Regions from separate parts of the Homo sapiens genome. Here all the other regions are linked to region 4. Evidence: promoter capture Hi-C in 16 types of primary human blood cells and fetal thymus (Javierre and others, 2016). All regions are on one chromosome and are shown on one strand. The core of a region is centred on a gene start or on the middle of the fragment in contact, and the rest is flanking DNA. Distances in the headings are between cores, read along the strand shown.

Evidence for each region. The method cuts DNA at HindIII sites, captures the fragments that hold promoters and counts their contacts. A CHiCAGO score of 5 or more calls a contact.
Region 1: a fragment that was not itself captured here is called in contact with the fragment with the promoter of LINC03122 in region 4 in 5 of 17 cell types (neutrophils, total CD4 T cells, non-activated CD4 T cells and 2 more); the score reaches 9.8 in neutrophils.
Region 2: a fragment that was not itself captured here is called in contact with the fragment with the promoter of LINC03122 in region 4 in 1 of 17 cell types (neutrophils); the score reaches 5.3 in neutrophils.
Region 3: a fragment that was not itself captured here is called in contact with the fragment with the promoter of LINC03122 in region 4 in 9 of 17 cell types (naive CD8 T cells, naive CD4 T cells, total B cells and 6 more); the score reaches 6.0 in naive CD8 T cells.
Region 5: a fragment that was not itself captured here is called in contact with the fragment with the promoter of LINC03122 in region 4 in 4 of 17 cell types (total CD8 T cells, total B cells, naive CD4 T cells and 1 more); the score reaches 7.1 in total CD8 T cells.
Region 6: a fragment that was not itself captured here is called in contact with the fragment with the promoter of LINC03122 in region 4 in 4 of 17 cell types (naive CD4 T cells, naive B cells, total CD4 T cells and 1 more); the score reaches 7.8 in naive CD4 T cells.
Region 7: the fragment with the promoter of ERCC8-AS1 here is called in contact with the fragment with the promoter of LINC03122 in region 4 in 6 of 17 cell types (naive CD8 T cells, naive CD4 T cells, activated CD4 T cells and 3 more); the score reaches 9.0 in naive CD8 T cells.

What each region holds. Positions count from the first base shown.
Region 1 is chr5:61,006,246-61,009,466 of GRCh38, forward strand. All of the region lies in intron 1 of NDUFAF2 (NADH:ubiquinone oxidoreductase complex assembly factor 2), which reads left to right. Among named protein-coding and RNA genes, the nearest start is that of NDUFAF2, 63 kb to the left of the region's middle. The HindIII fragment of the contact is 7,028 bases long and covers 1-3,221 here.
Region 2 is chr5:60,934,497-60,937,710 of GRCh38, forward strand. The region is part of intron 1 of ERCC8 (ERCC excision repair 8, CSA ubiquitin ligase complex subunit); the gene reads right to left. Among named protein-coding and RNA genes, the nearest start is that of ERCC8, 9.0 kb to the right of the region's middle. The HindIII fragment of the contact is 7,783 bases long and covers 1-3,214 here.
Region 3 is chr5:60,986,486-60,989,895 of GRCh38, forward strand. All of the region lies in intron 1 of NDUFAF2 (NADH:ubiquinone oxidoreductase complex assembly factor 2), which reads left to right. Among named protein-coding and RNA genes, the nearest start is that of NDUFAF2, 43 kb to the left of the region's middle. The HindIII fragment of the contact is 770 bases long and covers 1,226-1,995 here.
Region 4 is chr5:61,636,125-61,639,343 of GRCh38, forward strand. It overlaps LINC03122 (long intergenic non-protein coding RNA 3122), which reads left to right and starts at 1,657. Exons shown (of 2, transcript NR_126525.1): 1 at 1,657-1,722. The HindIII fragment of the contact is 4,932 bases long and covers 1-3,219 here.
Region 5 is chr5:60,950,722-60,953,659 of GRCh38, forward strand. The region is part of intron 1 of NDUFAF2 (NADH:ubiquinone oxidoreductase complex assembly factor 2); the gene reads left to right. Among named protein-coding and RNA genes, the nearest start is that of NDUFAF2, 7.0 kb to the left of the region's middle. The HindIII fragment of the contact is 1,236 bases long and covers 767-2,002 here.
Region 6 is chr5:60,970,288-60,973,421 of GRCh38, forward strand. All of the region lies in intron 1 of NDUFAF2 (NADH:ubiquinone oxidoreductase complex assembly factor 2), which reads left to right. Among named protein-coding and RNA genes, the nearest start is that of NDUFAF2, 27 kb to the left of the region's middle. The HindIII fragment of the contact is 3,657 bases long and covers 1-3,083 here.
Region 7 is chr5:60,915,072-60,918,438 of GRCh38, forward strand. ERCC8-AS1 (ERCC8 antisense RNA 1) reads left to right here and starts at 2,118. Exons shown (of 3, transcript NR_183288.1): 1 at 2,118-2,496; 2 at 3,224-3,356. ERCC8 (ERCC excision repair 8, CSA ubiquitin ligase complex subunit) reads right to left here. Exons shown (of 12, transcript NM_000082.4): 4 at 3,194-3,317. The HindIII fragment of the contact is 9,095 bases long and covers 333-3,367 here.

The sequences.
Region 1 (3,221 bases), core at 463-2,962, 630 kb before region 4:
GGTTGTAGATGTGTGGTATTATTTCCGAGGGCTCTATTCTGTTCCATTGGTCTATATGTCTGTTTTGGTACCAGTACCATTCTGTTTTGGTTACTGTAGCCTTGTAGTATAGTTTGAAGTCAGGTAGCGTGATGCCTCCAGCTTTGTTCTTTTGGCTTAGGATTGACTTGGCAATGCGATCTCTTTTTTGGTTCCATATGAACTTTAAAGTAGTTTTTTCCAATTCTGTAAAGAAAGTCATTGGTAGCTTGATGGGGATGGCATTGAATCTATAAATTACCTTGGGCAGTGTGGCCATTTTCACGATATTGATTCTTCCTACCCATGAGCATGGAATGTTCTTCCATTTGTTTGTATCCTCTTTTATTTCATTGAGCACTGATTTGTAGTTCTCCTTGAAGAGGTCCTTCACATCCCTTGTAAGTTGGATTCCTAGCTATTTTATTCTTTTTAAGCAATTGTGAATTAGAAAACTGTGTTTAAAACATAGCGTATTGTTACCAGGGATGTGTCTAGAGAATGTATTGCAGTACAGGTATTACCATCTAGTTAGTTAATATTGTAATGAAAACTTGAGCTTTTATTTACTTAAAATTAATGATCATTTTGGTCAAGGCGTTTGAATAACCAGAGCTTCCAAAAATACTAGTGGCACTAAGTCTCTGGTTTTGGAACAATATAGTAGAAAGAAGCTGTCAATATTTATCTCTTAAAGAACGGATTTTTTTTCTTGTAAATTTGTTTGAGTTCATTGTAGATTCCGGATATTAGCCCTTTATCAGATGGGTAGGTTGCAAAAATTTTCTCCCATTTTGTAGATTGCCTGTTCATTCTGATGGTAGTTTCTTTTGCTGTGCAGAAGCTCTTTAGTTTAATTAGATCCCATTTGTCAATTTTGGCTTTTGTTGCCATTGCTTTTGGTGTTTTAGACATGAAGTCCTTGCCCATGCCTATGTCCTGAATGGTAATGCCTAGGTTTTCTTCTAGGGTTTTTATGGTTTTAGGTCTAACGTTTAAGTCTTTAATCCATCTTGAATTAATTTTTGTATAAGGTGTAAGGAAGGGATCCAGTTTCAGCTTTCTACATATGGCTAGCCAGTTTTCCCAGCACCATTTATTAAATAGGGAATCCTTTCCCCATCTCTTGTTTTTGTCAGGTTTCTCAAAGATCAGATAGTTGTAGATATGTGGCGTTATTTCTCAGGGCTCTGTGAAAACAAACAACCCCATTAAAAAGTGGGCAAAGGATATGAACAGACACTTCTCAAAAGAAGACCTTTATGCAGCCAAAAAACATATGAAAAAATGATCGCCATCACTGGCTATCAGAGAAATGCAAATCAAAACCACAACGAGATACCATCTCACACCAGTTAGAATGGCAGTCATTAAAAAGTCAGGAAACAACAGGTGCTGGAGAGGATGTGGAGAAATAGGAACACTTTTACACTGTTGGTGGGACTGTAAACTAGTTCAACCATTGTGGAAGTCAGTGTGGCAATTCCTCAAGGATCTAGAACTAGAAATACCATTTGACCCAGTCATCCCATTACTGGGTATATACCCAAAGGACTATAAGTCATGCTGCTATAAAGACACATGCACACGTATGTTTATTGCGGCACTATTCACAATAGCAAAGAGTTGGAACGAAGCCAAAGGTCCAACAATGATAGACTGGATTAAGAAAATGTGGCACATATACACCATGGAATACTATGCAGCCATAAAAAATGATGATTTCATGTCCTTTGTAGGGACATGCATGAAATTGGAAATCATCATTCTCAGTAAACTATCGCAAGAACAAAAAACCAAACACCGCATCTTCTCACTCACAGGTGGGAATTGAACAATGAGAACACATGGACAGAGGAAGGGGAACATCACACTCTGGGGACTGTTGTGGGGTGGGGGGAGGGGGGAGGGATAGCTTTAGGAGATATACCTAATGCTAATTGACGAGTTAATGGGTGCAGCGCACCAGCATGGCACATGTATACATATGTAACTAACCTGCACATTGTGCACATGTACCCTAAAACTTAAAGTATAATAAAAAAAAAGAATGGATTTTCACATCTCTCAAACCTTGATAATTGATGTTACTACAAAGAATAGTCTTTGTAAGAAAGATTAACAAGCAAGTGTATACAGATAGCAAAGGCATTTATTCACATTCTTAGTTAATAACATCCAAAATTTGTATGGAGCTTTACAGCCTTTAGAATAGTTCATCCACACCTTATTTCTCTCAATGTTCAAAACAATCTCAAGGTCTTAGGAAAATTGCTTAAATGCACTGAGCTTCAATTTCATTCCCTATAAAATGCGGATGATTTCACCTATCTTGATGCATTGTGAGTAGTAAATGAGTATGTAAAGGGCTTGGTGTATCAGTATTATTATTACCACCTTTATCTTTACTTTCATCAACCATTTGTGGCACATATTGGCTGGTTAATTTAGTTAATAAGTGACAGAACCCGAATGTAAACATAGATCCTTCTCATTCCAAATCTTATGTTTGTTTCTTTCTATTATCTCTTCCATAGAGGCAGATCATTTTAAGCTCTGTAGAAGAAATATTGACTAGGGCCTTGAAGGATGAGGTTTGCTTTTGTAGCATCCAAGGCTTTTTATGAACTAACCGCCTTCCTTGTCTGTCTTATCAGTTTTTCTTCTTTTATTATTTATTTTCCCAAGTGTGTCTTCTATTTGAGGTTCTTAATTCCTGCCGTTTTTGTCTTTGTACATTATCATTTCTAGGGGGCATGTAAATCTTTTACTGTGGTCTTTTCTACTAATCCGTATCTATTATTGTTATCTTCATAGTTTACAGTGATTTCCTACATTTTTTTAAAAAATTGAAAATCGAAAGACAACATTCTGATATTTTCTACATTTTGTAAAAACTCTTTAACAGCGTTTTCAGATCACAGAATATTTTAGGTGTTATAAGTTAAATGTATTCTGAAGCCAAATAAGTTGAGGGAACAATTTGTTGAACAGAGTTAAATAGGTTATCTAACAAAATGCAGAACCTATTGGAGCATTTAATTTGCTATTGTGCACTGGAATTCTCCAAGAGGGAAAGTAGAGGTATAGGGGTATAGTAGGCAGGATATGGTATGTAACATCTCCTAATCTCACCAAGGAATCAACCCCCTCCCTCAAGAGCATCTCAAGAGATTAATTCATTGGACTGCCCAGATTTATAG
Region 2 (3,214 bases), core at 245-2,744, 700 kb before region 4:
GTGAAGATTTTCTTCCACTCTGTGGGTTGTCTGTTTACTCTGCTGATTATTTCTTTTGCTGTGCAGTTTAATTAAGACCTATCTATTTATCTTTGTTTTTGTCGTGTTTGCTTTTCGGTTCTTGGTCATGAAGTCTTTGCCTAGGCCAATGTCTAGAAGGGTTTTATCAATGTTATCTTCTAGAATTTTTATGGCTTCAGGTCTTAGATTTAAGTCTCTGATCCATCTTGAGTTGATTTTTGTAGAAGGTGAGAGATGAAGATCCATTTTCATTTTCCTCCATGTGGCTTGCCAATTGTCCCAGGACTATTTGTTGAATAGGGTGTCCTTTCCCCACTTTAGGTTTTTGTTTGCTTTGCTGAAGATCAGCTAGCTGTAAGTATTTGGCTCTACTTGTGGGTTCTCCACTCTGTTCCGTTGGTCTATATGCCTATTTTTATTACCACTAGCATGCTGTTTTGGTGACTATGGCCTTATAGTATAGTTTGAAGAAGGGTAAGGTGATGCCTCCAGATTTGTTCTTTTTGCTTAGTCTTGTTTTGGCTATGCAGGCTCTTTTTTCCTAGTTCTGTGAAGAATGATGGTGGTATTTGATGGAAGTTGCATTGAATTTGTAGATTGTTTTTGGCAGTATGGTTATTTTCGCAATATTGATTCTACCCATCCAAATGTAGAATTTAGCTGTGTTTCCATTTGTTTGTGTCATCCATGATTTCTTTCAGCAGTGTTTTGTCTTGTAGAGGTCTTTTACCTCCCTGGCTAGGTATATTCCTAAGTATTTTATTTTTCTTTTTTGAAGCTATTATAAAAGGGGTTGAGTTTTTGATTTGATCCTCAGCTTGGTCACTGTTGGTGTATAGCAGAGCTACTGACTTGTGTATGTTAATTTTGTATCCTGAAACTTCGCTGAATTCATTTACCAGTTCTAGGAGCTTTTTGGATGAGTCTTTAGGGTTTTCTAGGTATACAATCATGTTATCAGTAAACAGCAACAGTTTTACTTCCTCTTTACTGATTTGGGTGTCCTTGATTTCTTTCTCTTGTCTGATTGCTCTGGCTGGGACTTCCAGCACTATGTTGAATAGAAGTGGTGAAAGTGGGCATCCTTGTCTTGTTTCAGTTCTCAGGGGGAATGCTTCCCAACTTTTCCCCTTTCAGTATAATGTTGGCTGTGGGTTTGCTATAGATGGCTTTTATTACCTTAAGGTATGTCACTTCTATGCTGATTTTGCTGAGGGTTTTAATCATAATGGGATGCTGGATTTTGTCAGATGCTTTTTCTGCATCTATTGAGATAATCATCTGATTTTTGTTTTTAATTCTGTTTGTGTGGTGTATCACCTTTATGGACTTGCATATGTTAAACCATCCCTGCATTCCTGGTATGAAACCCACTTGATCATGGTGGATTATATTTTTTATATGCTGCTGGATTTGGTTAGCAAGTATTTTGTTGGGGGTTTTTGCATCTATGTTCATCAGGGATGTTGGTCTGCGGTTGTCTTTGTTCTTTCCTGGTTTTGGTATTAGCATGATATTGGCTTCACAGGAGGATTTAGGGAGGAATCCCTCTTTATCTTTTGGAACAGTGTCAATAGGATTGATACAAATTCTTCTTTGAATGTCTGATATAATTCAGCTGTGAGTCTGTACCTAAACTTTTTTTGGTAACTTTTTTATTACCATTTCAATCTCATTGCTTGTTGCTGGTCTGTCCAGGGTTTCTATTTTTTCCTGGTTTAATCTAGGAGGGTTGCGTATTTCCAGGAATTTATTCATCTCCTCTAAGTTTTCTAGTTTATGTGCATAAAGATGTTGATAGTAGCCTTGAATGATCTTTTGTATTTCTGTAGTAAGGGTTGTAATATCTCCCATTTTGTTTCTAATTGAATTTACCAGATCTTCTCTCTTCTTTTGTTGGTTAATCTAGCTAATGGTCTATCAATTTTATTTATCTTTTGAAAGAACCAGCTTTTTGTTGCATTTATCTTTTGTGTTTTGTTGTTGTTGTCCTTTCAATTTCATTTATTTCTGCTCTGATCTTGGTTATTTTTTTTCTTCTGTTGGGTTTGGGTTTGGTTTGCTGTTTCTCCAGTTCCTTGAGGTATGCCCTTAGATTGTCTGTCTGTGCTGTTTCAGACTTCCTGAGGTATGCATTTAATGATATGAACTTTCATCTTAGCACCACTTTTGCTGTATCCCAGAGGTTTTGACAGGTTGTGTCACTATTATCATTCAGTTCAAAGAATTTTTTAATTTCCATCTTGATGTCAGGTATTCTATGTCAATTTTTTGTATTTATGTGAATCCTTTTCCCCTAAGGTGTGTGATCCTTTGGGGGTGTTAAACAACCTTGTTTTATCATATTACCAGAATTGTTTTTCTGATTACTTCTCATTTGGGTAGACTATGTCAGAGGGAAGATCTGGGACTCAAGGGCTGCTCTGCAGATTCTTTTGTCCCACGAGGTGCTCCCTTGATTTGGTGCTCTCCTCCTTCCCCTAAGGTTGGGGCTTCCTGAGAGCCAAACTGCAGTGATTGTTATTTCTCTTTTGGATCTAGCCAACCAGCAGAGCTACTGGGGTCTGGTTGGTACAGGGCAGTTTCTGCAAAGAGTCCTGTGATGTGATCTGTCTTCAGGTCTCTCAGCCGTGGATACCAGCACCGGCAACCGTAGAGGCAGCAGGGGAGTGAAGTGGCCTCTATGAGGGCCCTTGGTTGTATTTTTGTTAAATGTACTGGTTTTGTGTTGGTTGGCCTCCAGCCAGGAGGTGGCACTTTCAAGAGGGCATCAGCTGCAGTAGTATAGAAAGGATACATGCTTGCCCTAGGGTTAGGTGGTGGGCAGGCCGATAGAGCTCCCAGGAGATTATGTCTTTTGTCTTCAGCTACCAGGGCAGGTAGAGAAAAACCATCAGGTGGGAGCAGGGTTAGGCATGTCTGAGCTCAGATCTCCTTGGGTGAGGCTTGCCGCTGCTGCTGTGGTAGATGGGGGCATGGTTCCCAGGCCAATGGAGTTATGTTCCCAGGGGGATTATGGCTGCCTCTGCTGTGTCACACAGGTCACCAAGGAAGTTGGGGAAGGCCGGCAGCCAAAGGCTTCACCCAGCTCCCATGCAACCTACAGCCTAAAGGGCTGGTTTCACTCCCACTGCGCCCCTACAACAGCTCTGAGTTTATTTCCAGCAGGGCTGAGGACTTGCCCCAGGCTTTA
Region 3 (3,410 bases), core at 361-2,860, 650 kb before region 4:
TTCTGGCACTATACACTCACATCAAAAATTAGAAAGTTCTCAACCTAATGTCACAACTAGAAAAACTAGACAGGTAAGGGCAAACCAACCTCAAAGCTAGCAGAAGACAAAAAAAATAACCAAAGTCAGAGCTGAACTGAAGGAGATTGAAACATGAAAAACTGGCCAGGCATGGTGGCTCATGCCTATAATCCCAGCGCTTTGGGAGGCTGAGGTGGGCAGATCACAGGGTCAGGAGTTTAAGACCAGCCTGGCCAACATAGTGAAACCCCATCTGTACTAAAAAAATACAAAAAATAAGCCAGGCGTGGTGGCGGGTGCCTGCAATCCCAGCTATTCAGGAGGCTGAGGCAGGAGAATCGCCTGATTCCAGGAGGTGGAGGTTGCAGTGAGCTGAGATTATGCCATTGCACTCTAGCCCGGGCAATAATAGTGTGAGACTCTTTTGTCTCAAAAAAAAAAAAAAAAAAGAAACATGGAAAACCATACAAGGACCAATGAATCCAGGAGATAGTTTTTTTGAAAGAATTAATAATATAGACTGTTAAGTACACAAAGAAGAAAAGAGAGAAGATCCAAATAAACAAAATTAGAATTGAGAAAGAGAATGTTACCGCTGACCCCACAGAAATACAGATAACCATCAGAGACTACTATGAGTACCTCTATATATACAAACTAGAAACTCCAGAAGAAATGGCTAAATTCCTGGACACATACATTCTCCCAAGACTGAGCCAGGAAGAAATTGAATCCCTGAACAGACCGATAATGAGCTCTAAAACTGAATCAGTAATAAATAGCCTACCAATCCCCCATAAAAGCCCAGGATGAGAAAGATTCTTGGCTGAATTCCACCAGATGTATAAAGAAGAGCTGGTACCATTCCTACTGAAGATATTCCAAAAAATTGAGAAGGGATTTCTTCCCAACTCATTCTATGAAACCAGTGTTATTCTGATACCAAAATTGGCAGAGATACAACAACAACAATAGCAATAAGAGTTCAGGCCAATATCTTTCATGAACATAAATGCAAAAATCCTCAGCAAAATACTAGCAAATCCAATCCAGCAGCATATCAAAATGGTAATCCACCATGATCAAGTAGGCTCTATCCCTGGGATGCAAAGTTGGCTCAAAATACACAAATCAATAAATGTGATTCATTACATAATAGAACTAAAGACAAAAACCATGTGATTATCTCAATAGATGCAGAAAAAGCTTTTGATAAAAATTGAACATCCTTTCATGTTAAAAACTCAATAAATTAGGCATTGAAGGAATGCAAATAATAAGAGCCAACTATGACAAACCCTCAGCCAACATCATACTGAATGGGCAAAGCTGGAAGCATTCTTCTTGAAAACTGGCAAAAGACCAGAATGCCCTCTCCTACCACTCCTATTAAACATAATACTGGAAGTTCCAGCCAGGGCAATCAGGCAAGAAAAAGAAATAAAAGGCACCCAAATAGGCAAAGAGGAAGTCAGACTATCCGTTTGCAGAAAACATGGTTCTATATTTAGAAAACCCCATACTCCTGGCCAAAAAGCAGCTTAAGCAACTTGAGCTGATAAACAACTTTAGCAAAGTTTCAGGATACAAAATCAATGTACAAAAATTAGTAGCATTTCTTTACACCAACATGCAAGTGAAGAGCCGTATCAGGAATGCAATCCCATTCACAATTGCCAGAAAAAGAATAAAATACCTAGGAGTACAGCTAACTAGGGAGGTAAAAGATCTCTACAATGAGAATTACAAACACTGCTCAAAGAAATTAGAGATGATACAAAGAAATGAGAAAACATTTCGTGTTCACTGATAGGAAGAACCCAATATTTTTTAAAATGGCCATACTCCTCAACACAATTTGCGATTCAGTGTGATTCTAATCAAACTACCAATAGCATTATTCACAGAACTAGAAAAAAACTTTTAAAATTCATATGGAACCAAAAAAGAGCTCAAGTTGCCAAAGCAATCCTAAGCTTAAAGAACAAACCTGGAGGCATAATGTTACCCGACTTCAAACTACACCCACAGGGCTGTAGTAACCAAAACAGTATGGTACTGGTACAAAAACAGGCACATAAACCAATGGAACAGAATAGAGAGCCCAGAAATAATGCCACACACCTACAACCATCTGATCTTTGACACAGCTGGCAAAAACAAGCAATGGGGAAAGGACTCCCTATTCTACAAATGATGCTGGGATAACTGGCTAGGTATATGTGGAAGACTGAAACTGGACCCCTTTCTTACATCATATATAAAAGCCAACTCAAGAATATAACGCTGTAAATGCAAAATCTAAAACTATAATACCCTGGAAGATGACCTAGGCAATACCATTCTGGACATAGGAACTGGCAAATATTTTATGACAAAGACACCAAAAGCAATTTCAACCAAAGCAAAAATTGAGAAATGGGATCTAATTAAACTAAAGAGCTTCTGCACAGCAAGAGAAACTATCAACAGAGTAAACAGACAATCTACAAAATATGAGAAAATATTTGCAAACTGTGCTTCTGACAAAGGTCTACTATCCAGAATCTGTAAGGAAAATTAAAATTAAACAAATTTTATAAGCAAAACCCAAACACATGAACAGATGTTTTTCAAAAGAAGACATACATGCAGCCAACAAGCATATGAAAAAATGCTGTACGTCAGTAATAATTAGAGAAATGCAAATCAGAACCACAGCGTGATATCTTATATTAGTCAGAATGGCTATTATTTTAAAAATCAAAAAATTACAGATGCTGGAGGGGTTATAGAGAAGAGGGAACACCTATACACTGCTGGTAGGAGTGTAAATTAGTTCACCCATTGTGGAAATCAGTGTGGCAATTCCTCAAAGAACTTAGAACTACTTTTAAACCCAGCCATCACATTATTGGGTATATACACCAAGGAATATAAATCGTTCTACCATAAAACATATGCACATGTATGTTCATTGCAGCACTATTCACAATAGCAAAGACATGGAGTCAAGCACCCATGAATGGCAGACTGGGTAAAGAAAATGGAGTGTATATACACCATGAAATATTATGCAGTCATAAAAAACAAGATCATGTCCTTTTCAGCAACATGGATGGAACTGAAGACCATTATTCTTAGCAAACTAGCACAGGAACAGAAAACCAAATACTGCATGTGTTCTCTCTTATGAGTGGGAGCTAAGTAACAACGCACGTGGACACAACAAAGGGAACAACAGACACTGGGACAAACTTGAGGTCAGAGGGTGGGAGGAGGAACAGGATCAGAAAAAATACCTATCGGGTACTATGCTTAATATCTGGGTGACAAAATAATCTGTACACCAAACCCCCATGAGCTGAGTTTACCTGTATTCCAAACGTGTATATGCATTCCTGAACCTA
Region 4 (3,219 bases), core at 407-2,906:
GCAGAACTCCAGGGGCCAGTTAGATAGCATGCAGTCCTGACTGGTTCTACCACTCTGGAGCAACTGTCTATGACCACCTCAAATCCATTGTGGAATGCAAATGGGGCATACTGTATTAGTTTCTATTGCTGTTCCAACAAATGACTACAAACTCAGTGGCTTAAAATAACACAAATGTATAACTGCTATAGTTTAATATCCCCTCCAAAACTTAGGTTGAAATTTAGTTGCCATTGTAACAATGTTGAAACATGGTCTTACAGGAGGTGATTAGGTCATGAGGGCTCTGCCCTCATGAATGGATCAAGGCTGTTAATCACAGGAGTGTGTTAGTTATCAAAGGAGTGGGCTCCACATAGAAGAATGAAGTTCTGGTTCCCTTCCTCTCTCTCTCTCGCATGCTCTCTTGTCAGGTAATGCCTTCTGCATGTTATGACACAGCAAGAAGGCCCTCACCAGATGCAGCCCCTTGATCTTGCACTTCCCAGCCTCCAGATCCATAAGACAAATAAACTTCTGTTATTTATAAGTTACCTAGCCTGTGGTATTCTGTTACAGCAGCAGAAAATGGACCAAGATATCTTACAGTTTTGGAGGCCAGAAGTTCACAGTGGGTTATCAGGGCAGGGCGTCTTCAGGAGGCTTGGGGTGGAGGGGGAGGAATCTGTTTTCTTGCCTTTTCCAGCTTCTAGAGGGTGCATGCATTCCTTGACTCATGACCCGACATCACTCCAATTTCTGTTTCCATTGTCACATCCCTGTCATTCTCACTCTTATCTTCCTATCTACCCCCTTATTAAAGACCATGGCAATTACACTGGGCCCACTCAGAAAGTCGATAGTAACATCCCCACTGCAAAACCTTTCATCACCTCTTCAAAGCCCCTTTTGCCATTTGAGGTAACCTATTCACAGCCTTCAGAATTTTTGAAGGAGGGGAGGCATCATTCTGCCTGCTATATACATAGTCTTTGGATCTCAGTTTCCACATCTGTAAAATGGAGAACTACTGTCTTCCCCACAGGGCTATTGAGATGATTGAATGAAGTAATTTCTGCTTATGAATTCCCAGCTCTGTGCCTGCCATGGAGGCAGGCAATTCTGATCCATGTTCTCTTCTGAGTGGGTTGTCAGCTGGAGGCCTTCTACTTCTTTCTAATCCATTAGCTTCTTGCTAGTGCTGCGTCCCCAGGAGGAAATCAGTAAATGCAAGAAATAATTACCTTGACAATGCCTTGCACATAGTAAGTACCCTAAAATAATTCATTGAATTGTTTGTTATTTTGGTGTTAATGGATGGGGATCATCTGATTAAATGTTATTATTTATTAGATCTAAAATATAAATTTGGATTCTTCTGTTGCACTTTTACCTAATTACTCTAAACACCAGTGGGAGAGAGGAATTAGTCACAATACAACTTAAAGAAAAAAATATCTTGCTGTCACTGACTTCTCTCCTTGGTCTGAAAACTTTCTGATTTTGTAGGATGCCACTGACTGCTCTTTCTGCAACTGAAAAATCTCTCAAAGGGCCCTGTCCAGTTAGGTCACACAAAGCCAGGCTGATTATTTAGAGAGAACACAATGCTCCCTCACATGGGGCACAGAGAGGAAGGAATTTTTTTTTTAAGCCAATTCCAGTCCCTGGAGCTGCAAACTGCCCTCAGGGCAAAGAAGCCTGCAGAATAATTGGGAGGAGTCTGGCAGGAAGGAAGCCAAGGTAAGTTAAGCTGCATTTCTGTCTATAGCCAGGGTCTCCATGCCACTTTTTAAACATCCCCTTCTGGGATAAACCTGTATGTCAAGATAAACAATTAAATAATATGCAAGGGCCAAATCAGGAAAACTGCAGCTTCAGCCCTAGAAAACAATGCCAAGAAACACCAGCCTGTCTGCCGCTGCTAAGTCGAGGAGATGGGTTCCCATGATTCCGTAAGAGAACTGGGTCAGGGAGGAGACACTGTCTGTTTAGAATATGCTTCAGGCCCCTAAACTTGGTCGGTTTATGCTTTTTCAGGTTAATAAAGTGGAAAATAACTTTACCTCATCCCTCTATCAAAGCATAGTGCGGCTGCCCCAGAGACCCCTAATACAGCCAGGGATGATGTGTTTGGAAAATGGGGCAAGAGAGGGTCCAAAGATGAGACCCCAAAACTGTGAGGGGGAGGTTGTGTGAGGAGGACAGACCAGAGCTGGAGGGGGACTGTGAGAAGAGGAGTCTGGTTGCTGCCGTCTCTGAAGGGTCTTCCTAGGCTCCCACACCATCATGTCTTGGCCAGCCAAGGCCAAGTGGTTGTGTAAACTTAGGATGGTCATAGAATCCTGAACTACTAGCACATGGGGGTTGAGCTTGTCTGAGGATCTTTTTGAGGAAATGGGGGAAGTATTATTCATGTAATGTGTGACCAGAGTATAGAAATCATGATCCCAGCAGATGGCATGAACGGACACTGAATAGTCCGAATGTCTCATCTCTCTGGACAGAGCAGGCTGGTGGGATCTGGGCAGTCGGGCTGGCTGAGGAGGCATATTTCAGAGTCCAGAGCGAATCCCAGCAGTAATGCCTGGGAACAAAGCCAACTGGTGCCCAGGGCAAGCAGCCCAGTTCTGGGGTCAGGCTACCAAGGTTGTACCAGGCAAGAGAAGAAGGGTGAGCAGGGGAATATTCAAGAGCATCCAAGAATGCAGGGAGCTAATGAGCATGGGAGTGCAGAACTGAGGTCAGAAGGCGTGGCCAATGGAAACTCCCAGCAGCCCTGTGCAGGGGCTCTGCGGATACCTGCTAGCTCTTGGGGCTTAAGCACGCAGTTCGGGACTGGCAGCTCAAAAATGTCTTGAGCAGATTGGCCCCTCAGATAAAGTGGGACACACAGTCTTTTTTTTTTTTTTTTTTTTTTTGAGACGGAGTCTCGCTCTGTCGCCCAGCCTGGAGTGCAGTGGCGCGATCTCTGCTCACTGCAAGCTCCGCCTCCCGGGTTCACGCTATTCTCCTGCCTCAGCCTCCCGAGTAGCTGGGACTACAGGCGCCCGCCACCATGCCCGGCTAATTTTTTTGTATTTGTAGTAGAGACAGGGTTTCACCATGTTAGCCAGGATGGTCTTGATCTCCTGACCTCGAGATCAGCCCTCCTCGGCCTCCCAAAGTGCTGGGATTACAGGCTTGAGCCCGGTTGGGACACGCAGTCTTTAAGAAGTACTTAGGAAGGGCAGTCAGGCT
Region 5 (2,938 bases), core at 135-2,634, 690 kb before region 4:
ATTTTTTAGAGCAATTTTAGGTTTACAGAAAAATTGAATGGAAACTACTCAGATATTCCTGCTCCCCCAATGCAGTTTCTCCCATTGTTAATATCTTGCATTAATGTGTCCTCACTTCCTCCCTTCCTGCTACCAAACCCCTAGCAACCACTGATCTTTTTACTGTCTCTGTAGTTTTGCCTTTTCCAGAATGTCATGTAGTTGCTGTCATATAGTATGTGATCTTTTCAGACTGGCTTCTTTCACTTAGTAATATGCACTTAAGTTTCCTCCATGTTTTTTTGTGGCATAATAGCTCCTTTCTTTTTATTTATTTATTTATTTTTGAGACAGAGTCTCACTCTGTCGCCCAGGCTGGAGTGCAGTAGTGCGATATTGGCTCGGTGCAACCTCTGCCTCTCAGGTTCAAGTGATTCTCCTGCCTCAGCCTCTCGAGTAGCTGGGATTACAGGTGCCCACCACCATGCCCAGCTAATTTTTGTAATTTTAGTAAGAGACAGGGTTTCGCCATATTGGCCAGGATGGTTTTGAACTCCTTACCTCAGATGATCTGCCTGCCTCAGCGTCCCAAAGTGCTGGGATTACAGGAGTAAACCAGATGCCTGGCCATCTACTTTCTTTTTATTGCTAAATAATATTCTGTTGTATGGTTAGAACCACTGTTTATTCGTTTGCATATTGAAGGACATCTTGGTTGCTTCCAAGTTTTGGCGATTATGAATAAAGCTGCTATAAATATTCCTGTGCAGTTTTTTGAGTGGACATAAGCTTTTAACTCATTTGGCATTGATTGATTGTTGAATGTCTTGAATATTGCATTTGTCAGGTAAACTCCACTTGGTCATGATGCATTATCCTTTTTATATATTATTGGATTGATGTGCTTTCATTTTATTGAAGAATTTTGTTTTCTGTTCTTCAGGATCTTAATTTCTTCCTTTTAATGTGTTTTCTAGGTTTGTTTTTAGGTTAATGCTGGCCTTATAAAGTGAGTTAAATTTTGTTTCCTTCTTTTGAATTTTCTGGAAGCGTTTGTGAAGAATTTGTATTACTTATTTCTTACATGTTGGATATAAATTGCCTGTGAAGCCATCTGGTCCTGGAGTTTTCCTTGTTGGAAGGCTGGAATTAAAAATTCAAAGATAATAAATTTTTAACCTACAAATTTAATATCTTTGGCAGGTATAAGACTACTCAGGCTATCTATTTTGTCTTAGGTGAGTTTTGGTAGTTTTTATCTTTTGAGTAGTTTGCCCTTTTTATCTAGTATGTTGAATTTACAGTCATAAAGTTGTAATACCTCTTCATTATCTTTTTAATGTTTGTACAATTTGTAGTGATATCCTCTCTTTCCTGAATTGATAATTTGTGGCTATTGTTTTCTTGGCCTATCTGATGAGTGGTTTGTTAATTTTATTGATCATTTTAGAGAATTAGCTTTGAGTTTCACTGATTTTTCTCTGTAAGTTTTTTCCATTGGTTTCAGAACTTATCGCTTTCTCTTATATCGTCATCGTTTTCTTCTGCTTTCAATTGGTTTTATATGTTCTTCTAGTTTCTTAAGGTGGCCACTGAGATCATAATTTGATCTGTTTATTTTTTAATATACATTTTTAATGTTAAAATTTCTTGTAGGCACTGTTTTGGCCACATTTCACAAATTTTTATCTTAAAATTTTCATGTAACGAATATATTTTCTTATTTATTTTTTCCTATATGACCTATGTATTTATTTAGAAGTATGTTCTTTACAAATATTTGGAGATTTTCTAGATGGAGATTTTCATTGACTTCTAGTTTAATTCTATTATATTCAGAGAACATATTTTATATGATTTCAGTTATTTTAAATGTATTGTAAATTGTTTTATGGCCTAGAGTATGGTGCAATTTGGTAAATCTTCTGTTTGTGCTTGAGAAAAATGTATTATCTATTTTGCTATTTGGGGTTGAATGTTCTGTAAATGTCAGTTAGCCCAAGCTGGTTGATAGAGTTGTTCAAGCTTTGTATATTCACACTGATTTTTTTTGTACTTATTCTATCAATTATTGAAAAAAGTATGTTACAGTCTCTGAATACAAGTTTACATTTGTCTTTTACTCTTTCCAGTTCTATCAGTTTTTGCTTCATGTATTTTCAATACCTATTGTTAGGTCCTTACACATTTATAATTGAAAGATAATAATACAAATTACCCAAAATAAAACACAGAGAGAAAAAAGACCAGAAAAAAAAGAGCAATTAGCAAGCTGTGGGATACCCCCAAGTGGCCTAATATATGTAATTGGATACCATGAGGGGTAAAGGTCATTTTGCAGGTCAAAAATATTTGAAGAAATAATGGCCAAAAATATTCCAAATTTGATGAAAACTATAAACCCACAGACCCCAAATCATCAACAAATTCCAAAAACAAAAAGTGTAGAAAACCACACCAAGGCATATTATTATCAAATTGCTCAAAGCCATTGATAAAGAGAAAATCTTTATAGAGCTAGAGAAAAAGATACATTACTTACAGAGGAAGAAAGACGAAAATGAGTTCAGGGTTTTTTTTAAAACAAACAATATAAGCTGGAAGACAGTGGAACAATATCTTTAAAGTACCAAAAGAGAAAGTCTGCCAACCTATAATTTTGTACACAACAAAAATACCTTGTTAAAACAAAGGCAAATGAAGGTTTTTTCAGACATACTGTACCTGAAAGAATTCATTACACAGAGACCATAATTCCCTTTCCTCTTCCCTCTACTGGATATCTTATTCCCTGGATTCTGGGCCTTTCACCACAGTTTTGTAGCATATATGCTTCAGTAGCCTCCTGAGAAGAGGTTCAAGGCGGATAAAGTTTTTGAGTCTTTGAATGTCTGAAAAGATTTTTATTCTGTCCTCATTTGGTTGATGTATTTGTTGGGTGTAGTTTCTACTGCAGTCA
Region 6 (3,134 bases), core at 5-2,504, 670 kb before region 4:
GCATTAAATCTGTAGATTGCTTTGGATAGTATGGACAGTTTAACAGAATTGATTCTTCCCATCTATGAACATGGAATATCATTCTATTTTTTTGCATGTGTGTCCTCTTCAATTTGTTTCATCAGTGTTTTATAGTTTTCATTGTAGACATCTTTCACTTTTTTGGTTAAGGTAATTTTTAGGTATTTTAGTTGTACTTATTAATGGGATTTCTTGATTTCTCTTGAAGATTGTTTGCTACTGATTTTTGTATGTTGATTCTGTATCTCACAACTTAATTTATTTATCAATTTCAATAGTTTTTTAGTGGAGTATTTAGGTTATTCCAAATATAAGATCATATCCTCTGCAAACAAGAATAATTTGACGTCTTCCTTTTCAATTTGGATGCCCTTTCTTTCTCTTGCCTGATTGCTTTAGCTAGGACTTCCAGTACGTGTTAAATAACAGTGGTGACAGTGGGCATCCTTGTTGTATTCCAGATCTTAGAGGAAAGGCTTTTAGTTTTTCTCCATTCTCTCCATTATTGAGATGTAAAGTTCAATATGTAGGCTGTTAAACTCTTCATCATTGATTATGTTATTTGGTTGTTTATATCCTTATATATATATTTTTGTCTACATAATTTGTCTCATATTAAGGAGGATTATTTTAAAGTTTTCTTTTTTTACTGTATTTTTATCTGTGTTCTACCAATATCATTTGTGTTTGCTTCATTGAGTGGTGGTTCTGTTATTTATTGAATAGTTATTTATAATTTGTCTTTATTGTGAACTGTGGCTGAAAATTTTGGGTCATGCTTAATGCTCTCTAATTCTATTTTAATATTTGAATCACAACCTCTATTTCTTTTTTCGTTTTTTTTTTAAATTGTACTTTAAGTTCTAGGGTACATGTGCACAATGTGCAGGTTTGTTACATATGTATACATGTGCCATGTTGGTGTGCTGCACCCATTAACTTGTCATTTACATTAGATATATCTTTTTTCTTTCTTTCTTTTTTTTTTTTCTTTTTTGAGACAGAGTCTGGCTCTTTCGCCCAGGCTGGAGTGCAGTGGCTGATCTCAGCTCACTGCAAGCTCCGCCTCCCGGGTTCACGCCATTCTCCTGCCTCAGCCTCTCGAGTAGCTGGGACTGCAGGCACCCGCCACCGTGCCCGGCTAATTTTTTTGTATTTTTAGTAGAAACAGGGTTTCACCGTGTTAGCCAGGATGGTCTCGATCTCCTGACCTCGTGATCCGCCCGCCTCGGCCTCCCAAAGTGCTGGGATTACAGGCGTGAGCCACCGCGCCCGGCATATCCCCTAATGCTATCCCTCCCCCCTCCCCCAACCCCATGACAGGCCCCGGTGTGTGGTGTTCCCCACCCTGTGTCCAAGTGTTCTCATTGTTCAGTTCCCACCTATGAGTGAGAACATGCGGTGTTTGGTTTTCTGTCCTTGTGTTAGTTTGCTGACAATGATGGTTTCCAGCTTCATCCATGTCCCTACAAAGGACATGAACTCATCCTTTTTTATGGCTGCATAGTATTCCATGGTGTGTATGTGCCACATTTTCTTAATCCAGTCTATCATTGATGGACATTTGGCACAACCTCTATTTCTTAATATTTGGCTGATACAACTTTGCCCATTCTTTTTGCCCCCCTCCCTTTTTTTTTTTTTTTTTTTCTGAGACGGAGTCGTGCTCTGTCACCCAGGCTGGAGTGCAGTGGTGTGATCTAAGCTCACTGCAACTGCCACCTCCCGAGTTCAAGCAATTCTCCTGCCTCAGCCTCCTGAGTAGCTAGGATTACAGGCATACGCCACCGAGCCTGGCTAATTTTTGTATTTTTAGTAGAGATGGGGTTTCACCATGTTGGTCAGGCTGGTTTCAAACTCCTGACCTCGTGATCTGCCTGCCTCGGCCTCCCAAAGTGCTGAGATTACAGGCATGAGCCACTGTGCCTGGCCCATTTTTTTTTTTTTTTAATTCTTAGCATTTGATATGGTTTGGCTCTGTGTCCCCACTCAAATCTCACCTTTAGTTGTAATCTCTAAATCCCCACTTGTCAAGGGCGGGATCAAGTGGAGATAGTTGAATCACGGGGGTGGTTTCCCCAATCCTGCTCTTGTGGTGATGAGTGAGTTCTCATGAGATCTGACAGTTTTGTAAGGGACTTCCCCCTCTTCACTCACCACTCATTCTCTCTCTTGCCACCCTGTGAAGAGGTGCCTTCTGCCATGATTATATCTTTTCTGAGGCCTCCCAGGTATGCGGAACTGTGAGTCAATTCAACCTCTTTTCTTTATAAATTACCCAGTCTTGGGTATTCCTTCATAGCAGTGTGAGAACAGACTAATACAGCATTTTTAAATCACTTGTTTTAGGTGTGTTTCTTGTGTACAGGTTATATTAGAGTCTTGATTTGTCAGCCAAGTTTTTAATCTCTTTTTTTAAAGTAGAAAAACTAAGCACATTCTCATTTACTGATATGTGTATTCTGTTTTTTTTTTTTTTGGTTTTCTTTTTTTTTTTTGCTATGTTTTAAAATTTCTCATGGTATATAGGAAGGTTTGTAGTTTTGTATTTACCTCTGTATTTCTACCTTTTTTAATGCCCGTATTTCTTGGTTTCTTATTCTATTACTATCTCATTTGTTAGTTTCTAATGATATCCTTTAATTCTCACCCATTTTTTTTACCATAACCAAAGAGCTTATACCCCTTTTCTTTCTCCTTTTAACTTTGTCTCCTAATGTTTAGTTGCATTTTTGACTTCTTTTAAAATATATTTAATACATAGTATATAACATATAATTAGGTTGTCTTGCACTCTGATCCTTGCCTTTGTTTTAGACTTAGATCTCTAATTAAAGGTATTGAATGCTCACCATTAGTCTTTTTGCTAAAGTTGCCCCAGTTAACACTTGGTTGGATGCAGCTTACTTTTTGGTAGATTCCTCAAGAAGTGTTCCTGAGTATAGAGTTCCCTGAGTTCATTCATGTCTGTAGTCTTGAATCTTCATGCTTGGATGTAACATCCTTGTCTCATACTTTTTTTCTTGAGTTTTTTGTTTGCTTGCTTGTTTGTTTGTTTAGGAAGCTTACTGTTGCCTTGCTTTCTATGTTGTTGTTGAGACATTTGCCAACAT
Region 7 (3,367 bases), core at 868-3,367, 720 kb before region 4:
AATCATGGATATGCTGGCCCCATAAAAAAAGTTTACAAAAGTTCCTTTTTTTCCTCTTGAAGCATTTGTATAAGATTGGTATTATCTCTTTTTTAAGTGTTTAGAATAACTTACTCGTAAAGGCACCTAGGCCTGGAGATGTCAGTCTTCTTCTATTGTCTGTTTTTACTCCTAAGCTCATTTGTTGGTAAGCTTGGAAGTTTCTGTTTTGAGTGCTAGAAATTATATAGAAAAAATTGGGAGAGATTCTGCGTTATGTTATCCTCCTCTAGAGAAGATCCAATCTCTCTTTTGCAGGTAGGAGAGGGAAGATCATATCAATTCAAACATAAAGCTTGTCTGCTATTGTAGAGTTCTGTAATAATTTTCTACTGATGCAGTAAGGAAAGTACTTACTGTACTTAGTAAGTACCACATACTTAGTAATTTATAACACAAATTTATTATCTGTAATAAATCTGTTCTACAAGTTAAAATTCTCACATAGGTCTCAATGGATTATAATCAAGGTGTTGACAGGCTGCATTCCTTTTTGGAGGCTCTAGGAGAGAATACTTTCTCCATCTTCCAGAGACCACCCACATTTCTTGGCTTGTGATCCCCTTAATCCATCTTCAAAGCTAGCAATTTTACATTTCTCTGGCCATTCTCCCAGTCAAATTTACCCCGTCTCCTTCTGCCTCCCACTTCCATTTTTTAAGATTCTTATGATTACATTGGGCCCACTAGGATAATTCAGTATTATCTCCCTGTCTTGAGGTCAGGTGATTGGCAACCTTAATTCCCCTTCGTATGTTCTAGAGATTAGTACATAGACATCTGGGAGCGGGACATGATGCTGCCTACCACAGGCTCCATCTACCTCCTATTTGTACCCATTATTAGAGTATTCCCCTCTAGGTGCCCTAAGAGCCTGGGTGTTTTCCTAGGCCCCCTTCTACTTAGCAAGTACTGCACTGCAATTCTTCTCTCCAGTACCATGTGACTGGGGAAAATTGCTGTTCTTCAAATGTCTTCTGCTTCATTTCTTAAGTCTATGGTCTCGCATAGCTTGGTCAGCAAATATCTCAAAGAAAAAACCAGTGCAAGATGTTAGGCTGATTTCTCTGCATCTCTCTTCTTTCTGTGATCTTGACCCTTTAATTTCTGGCTGTCTTGGCAGCCCACATTCCAATTTCTGTCTCTCTAGCTTTATGAAATTGACTAAAGTCCCACTCATTTATCTGCCTCTTAGAAGCTATCCAATGCCTGTCTTCTCAGTCTCTTGCCTTACTTTAATGACAAATGTCCAAAGAGAAAAAGAGTGTGTGGAAAGTTGAATGCATTTCTGTAAGTGTTCCCCTCTCTAGGATCTGATTCTCAATTCCTAGATTTCTTGGCAGCTTTATAAAACCCTCAACTAGATGCCTGTTTATGCTTTATCTAGCTTTTCTCAATGGAGGTGCTGGTTTGGCTACAAGATATTCCATTATAGTCAGAAGTGAAAGGTCATGACATTCATTTAATTGTTAAAATATACTCTCATTTTCAATGACATGTATTTTAAATAAATATACTTTATTATAAAAATAAATCTGAAATAATAGGACTATTCTAATGTAGCAAGGTCAAAAAAACACATCTATTTAGTTTGAATTATTAGAAGTATATTAAATTTACATTTATATACACAACACTGTTTTGTTTTGCTCACTAGAATCATAATATACTTCATGATTTTATTACTTTTTAGTATGTGGCCAGTTACATACATTGTTAGTCATCCCTAAAGCATTTACTCAGCAGTTACTGTACATAGCACTGAATTTAGTAATGTATAAGACATAGTACTTTCTTTGGGGAAGTAACAATCTAGAACAACAAATAAGACAAACAAGTATGAAAATGATATTATAAAGTAGTATGAGAATGTATTGAAATAGGAATACAGAAAATAGTGCTATAAAGTAAAATAATGGTTAATATTTACTCCAGAAGCTGAAATCACTAAACTGCATGATAGAACTAAAAGGGACCTTAGACACCATCTAGTCTGACACTTTAATTTTATAGCTGAAGAGACCTTTGCTAACAAATTAAATGACTTATCTAAAGCAACAAATCTCATAAGTGGCAGAATGGAACTAGAACTCTGGCATCTACAGTCTTGGCTCAATGTAATTGTAAAAAAAGATGTGACCTTAGGAGAAGGGAAGAGTTGCAAGGGAAAGGGACTTGAGGTAGGGAATACAACAGATTCAAAACACGATCAGTTTAGTTGCAGCAAAGCATTTGTGTTGAAAACTGGTAGAACATAGGATTGAAGGAACAAGGGTTGATGTCATGGAGAACTTGGAATGCCAGGCTGAGTTTAGACAATGGGAATCCCTAGAGGGTTTGGGTAGTGACATGATGAAACTGCTTTATAATAAGATTAATTCTGGGGTAGAACTTAGTGTAGAAAATGTAGAAGGTAAGGCAGTGATTTTAGTAGTCCAGATGTGCAGTAAAGGCAAGGTAAATAGAAAAGAGAGGTATGAGAGAGTTTGAAGAAAGGATTGCTAAGATTTTATGACTAAATTTAATGAGATGTGATCATGTTCAGTTGGGACCATGTTAAGTTTGAAGGGATGACACTACATTTAAGTATAGAGGTACTGTAGAAAAGTAGAGACATATCAGAGTAGAGCTCAGAGAAAAGATTAGCACTCGGAATGTAAATTTGACCAAATGTCATACAAACTATTATCCATTGCTTGTCTTTACTAAGCTACAGTATTAACAGCTTTCTCCTTCAAGTTTTTAGATCAATCAAAGATAAATCCAATTTTCTACTTTAGATTACTAGATCATAGTATTTTTCACAAAGGGATAATAATATTAGCTAACAGTTTTTGAGCATTTACTATATGCTATGTACTGTACTAGGTACTTTACATATTTTGGCTCATTTAATCCTCACAACCATACTATAATCATTATTCCCATTTACAGATGAGAAAGACACACAGAGGTTTGGACATTTGCCCAATGTCATACAGCTGTCAGCAGCACAGCCAGGATATGAACTCAAGTAGTCTAGCTCTTCTTAACCACTGTACTGCTTTCACATCTAACATATATGACATCTCAGCAAATAATCATACTAAAATGGTTTAGGATTAAATTCTCCTTTATCCTACAAAGCAATCTGCAAATGTTTTAATGTACTTACTTGTAATGTATTTGTATCCCATACTTTCAGAGTTTTATCAAATGAGCTTGATGTGAACATGCCAGTGTCATGAGGATACCACTGTACAGTCTCCACACTGTATCTGTGAACATCAGGATGATCTCTACAAAACAGCAATCAAAATTTACATTAACTGACTTATGTGAGTTTCAA